2 separate regions of the Homo sapiens genome follow, and region 2 is linked to region 1. The links are contacts of gene promoters, found by promoter capture Hi-C in blood cells and fetal thymus (Javierre and others, 2016). All regions are on one chromosome and are shown on one strand. Each heading gives the region's core, a stretch centred on a gene start or on the middle of the fragment in contact. The rest is flanking DNA. Distances are from core to core; before and after follow the strand shown.

The links. Contacts are between HindIII fragments. The CHiCAGO score rates a contact against its expected background, and 5 or more counts as called.
Region 2: a fragment that was not itself captured here is called in contact with the fragment with the promoter of CNGB3 in region 1 in 1 of 17 cell types (M1 macrophages); the score reaches 5.1 in M1 macrophages.

What each region holds. Positions count from the first base shown.
Region 1 is chr8:86,742,174-86,744,940 of GRCh38, reverse strand. CNGB3 (cyclic nucleotide gated channel subunit beta 3) reads left to right here and starts at 1,307. Exons shown (of 18, transcript NM_019098.5): 1 at 1,307-1,442. The coding sequence starts at 1,314. The HindIII fragment of the contact is 3,976 bases long and covers 815-2,767 here.
Region 2 is chr8:88,391,846-88,394,841 of GRCh38, reverse strand. All of the region lies in intron 2 of LOC105375630 (a long non-coding RNA gene), which reads right to left. Among named protein-coding and RNA genes, the nearest start is that of MMP16, 66 kb to the right of the region's middle. The HindIII fragment of the contact is 1,919 bases long and covers 588-2,506 here.

The DNA of each region.
Region 1 (2,767 bases), core at 58-2,557:
GTTCAAAATGTAATCAATTACAGGATTACAGGATTATCTGAAAAGTTCCTAAAATGGCCCTATACATATTTGATAATCTATTCAGAATTATTTCTGAAGCAATAATGGAACCAAAACACCCCCCACCATTTTTTAACAAAAATAAATAGCTTTGTGTTTCCAGGCCATATAAGTCAAATCATGTATTCAATTACGTTATTTATTAGGTAAGTTTATTTTTGATAAAATGGTTGAATCTAAAATTAAAACTTCTAATTTATTTTAAAAATCCATAAGGGAACTGCGATTTTGGTAATATGAAATCTAAATTAAAATGCTTTCTTCATAAATACTTAAAGGCTTTTTTCTGTATTAACTGTAATAAACGTATCTTAAAATACATAACTAGTATCTCAAGGAAATTTCCAGATTGCAAAAATACAGAGGGCAAGAAGTATTTGATGGGTTGACTTAGGCTGCCCTGGGTGTGGGTGTGTACCTTGTTGCATAAAGGCTTTGGTTTTAATTTGAAACTGCAGAAGATAAGTGCTCTCATTAAAAACAAAAACAAAAACAGAACCCCTTTAAAAAAAATCATGCGTCTTTGGTGCACTAAAAAATCTCATCCAACAGCATAGAACATCAACTTTGTCTGGGCTCCGGGCAAAGGGGAAAAAAAAGTTCTCTTTAACAAATCTTAGTCTTGTATCTTTGCCTCACACAGGTTTGGGGTCAAAAGTGACACACACACACACAGAGGCAGAGTAGAATAAGCAGATTTTTTTTTGTTTAGCCATGTGGAAATCAACCACCAGAAGAACAGAAAAAGAAAGCTTAAAAATAGTGGCCTAACATTGCAGGACCAGAGAAGGGGATTTTGAGGAGTGAATGAGTTGCTTCATATCATAAGCCCTCATGGATTTTTTTTAATCATTTCCATATTACTTTGCATAAAGTTAGACAGATAAAGATAAGTAGGTGGGTAATTAGAAGGAAAAAAAAAGAAAGAAAACAATGTGTTGTGTGATCACATTTAAACCATTCAAATCAACTATGAAGCTGTGTTTAATCCTCTACTTCTAAATTATTCACAAGATCATTTTGACTCCCTAAAGTTCATAAACAGAGTGCAAATCACCCAAGCAGAAGTATTTTGCTGCTTTTAAGCCAAAGCCCTGACTAGCTAAGGAGTTGCCTGTAGGAATTAACCAGAACAAAATCCTGATTAAACAGCTAATTGGCTTGTCTACTAAAGAAAAGGAAAACAAAGTACATTTCTCTACCTTAAGGCACAGTCATAAATACAGAGGGTTTTCAGAACCACCTCAGAGAAGATGTTTAAATCGCTGACAAAAGTCAACAAGGTGAAGCCTATAGGAGAGAACAATGAGAATGAACAAAGTTCTCGTCGGAATGAAGAAGGCTCTCACCCAAGTAATCAGTCTCAGCAAACCACAGCACAGGTATGTCCTCTACATTCCTATGCAAGCCTTGATTTTCATCATTTCTTATCTGGTAATAGCATTTAATCACTGCTACGATATATGATTGTTTAGTAGTTTTACCTGGCACCATCTGGTACATGTACTGTGTCGGGCTTATCTTCATTAATTTATATATTCTGTATGTATTTGTTCATAAAAAGAATAATAAATGTTTAGGAGACTATACTAGGATTTGGAAAAGCCAAGTAAGACTTCTCATTGCTGATTTTCACTTCTACCATCATCCAAAATGAAACCATTTCTCAAATATTAAATTGGTTACTTGATTGAGTTTCAACAAAGAACATCAAGTATCCTGGTCTTCATAAACCACATGTTAACAATAAATCTCTAGAGCAATAGGAAACCTATTGGCTCTCAATTGAGAGCGATTTTACCACTCAAGGGACATTTGGCAAATCTGGGGACACTTTCAGTTGTCATAGCTCCGGGGTGGGGATGTTACTGGCATCCAGTGGGTAAAGTCTGCAGATGCTGCTCAACATCCTATCATGTACAGGACAGCCCTCCACAACGTAGAATTATACACTACAAAATTTTAATACTGCCAAGGTGGAGGAACTTTAAACAAGCCTTTTCACAAGTTCTAAATATATTTTTCTGCAAAATGTATATGATAATTTCTGCTTTGTTATGAGAACTAGAGACAGTAATATATAAAGCACATGGTAGGTACTTTACAAGTGGCTATTATTATTATTAATAAGAATTTGTGTTTCTGTGACAGGTTTAAGTCCTAAGTGATCATTACAAGAGCAATATTTACTTAGAACTATCCACAGAATAATTTTCGTGAATTACTCACTAGAATTATCTAAAAGAGCTACAGAAGATTTTTAGAGCAGTAGTTATTTTGCCATCTGAAACAGCTGGATGAGAGATGACAAGTACAAGCAGGAGTGCTCCTCAGGGACTAGGGGAGCATAGTCCAATGGTTCGGGTTTAAATGAGCCTAGAGGATAGACAACACTGAGACTATTTAACATGGGCCGTGGAAAATCTGCCTTCCTTTTCTGATTAATGTTGACTGCTTTGCAGTAGAGAGGAGATGAGGAGGACTGTGTTAGTATTGCTTCGAGAGAGTGCCCTTGACTTCTTTCTAATTCTTATGTCAAAATAAATAATCCCACACTAAGTTATCTATATGTTTAAGAACTCATACAATGTCACAAATATTGAGCTGGTACTTTCCTTCAGCTAGTCTTGCTGTGTTTTGCTCTGGGAAAGTCACTACATCCATCTTTAACCCTTGCCTACTGTGATTATTTTCCAAGGGAGCACAT
Region 2 (2,996 bases), core at 298-2,797, 1.6 Mb before region 1:
AAGCATTAAAATTCCGATCAGGCAGACTGACATGAAATAAAATATAGAATTTTAATTAATTTCCCAAGTCATTTTCTAACATCCAAGATTTTATATTGCTTCTTTGCATCCAGTACTTACATTCTAAACCAGGGAATTGGTTTCATTAACCCTCTACACATAATACATCTATCCCAATGTCTGTAACAGACAGTGATGTTGTTTTGATGTGCTTGTGGAATTCATTAGTGATTTTATATTTCTGTTGAAAAAGTTGGAAAATCTTTTGCCTTTAATTTAGCAGATATACATTTTTTTCTTTTAAATATTTTATGTGTTAATTATGTTTAATGTTCAGAAAAAAATGAATGCTTTATTTTTAAATTAAATTTTCTAATTTTTATTTAAGCCTTATATAAAATACAATAAGTGCTATGTGGCTTATTTTTCCTTTTTATTTCTTTAAAATCTAGATTCCCAAAACATCATACTTTGAATATTGATTGTAGCACTAAGATAAAAAGTACCTCTTTAGAATACATGACTTTTAGCTATTAGGTTTTTAAAATTTATTAATTAATATCTGTTATCTATCCTCAATATAAGCTTTCCTAGCTCACATGTAAATTAATGCTGATTCTACTTATACCACATACATTTTCCAACTTCTTTTTAAAATTAGTTTAATAAAACTGATTAAGTTATTACATTGAAATCTACTGGAACCAATTCATGACTTGAAACATAGTCTCTACATTAATTTCACATTACTACATTAAAACTTTGATTAGCTGAATATCTGAGGGGACAGAGAAAATAGTAGATAAACCAGAAAAAACACTTTGATCTTAATATTTGATATTAAAAAGTATTCTTAAATATAGTCCAGTTACAGCTTTAGGCAATACTTGTACTAAAAATCATCTCTTTCTTAGTTTTTTTAGAGCCTTGGGTGTTTTTCCCCCAGATACTATTGATTTTGTTATGGAATAATACCATAATTGTAGAATTTAAATAATTAAATGAGTATTGACACTAAGAATCTTTTTAAAAACTATTTTATTACTGATAGGAACAAATTGTCCTATATGAAGCTGAGTCCTTGAGGTGGTTGAGTGGTAGGTTGGAATCTGGGAATTATCATGGTAAAATTTAGACTTACATATTCAGAAAAGTAATAGAACATGAGTCATTTGGTCATCCAAAGGTGATACAACAGGTAATAAGGAGGCCAAAGGAAACTTGAAGCTGTTAAGCAAAGGCCTGGAACTAAACTGAGGCTTGCGAGAGTAGTAGATAAGATGGTTAAGCTCTGTTCCATTTGCTCTTGAGGAGCTTTACAATTCTAAAGGGATCAGAATGCTTCCTCATCAGTGGAGATTCTGTCACAGTTGGGGAAGAAGATGCTTATTCAATGATTTGGAGAGAAAACTGCTGATTTTGGCAAAGAATCACCACACACATTTTTTGAGATACAGTGGCTTGTAGTAATCTGCTGAGTAACTTATTGATGGCTTGTGGTTTCCAAGCCTCTTTTACCTTTGAGGCATTTTCCTATTTGCAGGTACTTCATTAATGATCTGTACTCATTTGTTAAGATCTGTCGTCTCCATACTTAGCTTCATGGTGTCAAGTGCTTTTGTTCATTTTGTCTTTCCCTCTTTCTCTGTTTCTAGAATAATGCCCAGCCTTTAGAAGGTGTTTAACAAAGGCTATTGACTGCATGAAAGAAAGACTGATTGACCCGAAGGCTTCCTTGTGTTAGATTTGGTGTTGGACATAATAGAATATATTTCTAAATTCCTATGGAATCATGTCCAGAGCACGGATTCCCTTAATTTCAGGTTCTGCTAATAGAAAATGTAAAATATTTTTCTATTATTATGTTATTTCAGCAAGTGTGAATTGTAGGTTAAAAAGAAAATTCTACTCAGTTGGAGGCTGATTAATTGAAGTTTTCTCTAACTGCTACAGTCATATCTTTAAAAGTGAGGGTATTATCCTAAAATTTAATGACAGTGATAATCATTCACGTTTATTAAGCAATATCAATGTTTGGGTACTCTCAGAAAACTTTTCAAGCATTATCTCCTTTAAGAGGACCACATAAATGCATTTAAAACTTGACATATGAAAGAAGTGAATGGGAAATAATGGCAATATATTATGTATATCTCACTCTTCAGTGGGTTCACAATGCCTGGAAAACTGTGCAAATATGCTGGTCATTGTTAAAAATAAAATGGATATTATTTAACCACTGATTATGAGCACATACTGCATCCAAAATGTGGTGTAAAATATTTCCTTGCTGTTGTTATCAAATCACTTTTCTGTCCATAGAATCCTGTTTGAAAGGGTACCCGAGAATCTGTTTTATTGTCTCAATCTCTATTCATTACTGCAGGTTCACCTAAATCTTTTCCTGCTCTCTGTATTTTTTTACCCTTGCTCAACCCTAGATATATTCCTGCATCCTTTCTGGAAGGAAACAAATAGAGTTGGATAAGCAAAGGGGAAAGAAGCTTGGAATGCCAAAGTCCTCTCCCCAGAGCAAGACAAGTTCCTCATGTTTATGTAGTTAATAGTAACTATTTTTTGATGCATTACTATGCTGAAAGCTTCTCCCTAATGTCCTACCAAAAACTCCTTTTCCATGAGGGTGAAAAAAAGAGAGAAAAGAATGACAGGAAATGAAAAAAATTTCTCATCCTATACACCCATTATGTAATTCTTAAAAGAATCATAAGAAGTAGAATAGAATGGCAATCATTAAAAAGTCTGGGAAAAAAACAGATGCTGGCAAGGATGCGAAGCAATAGAAACGCTTTTACACTGTTGGTGGGAGTGTAAATTAGTTCAACCATTTGGAAGACAGTGTGGTAATTCCTCAAGGATATAGAACCAGAAATACCATTTGACCCAGCGATCCGATTATGGGTATGTACCCAAAGGATTATACATCATTCTACTATAAAGACACATGCACATGTATGTTTATTGCAGCACTGTTCACA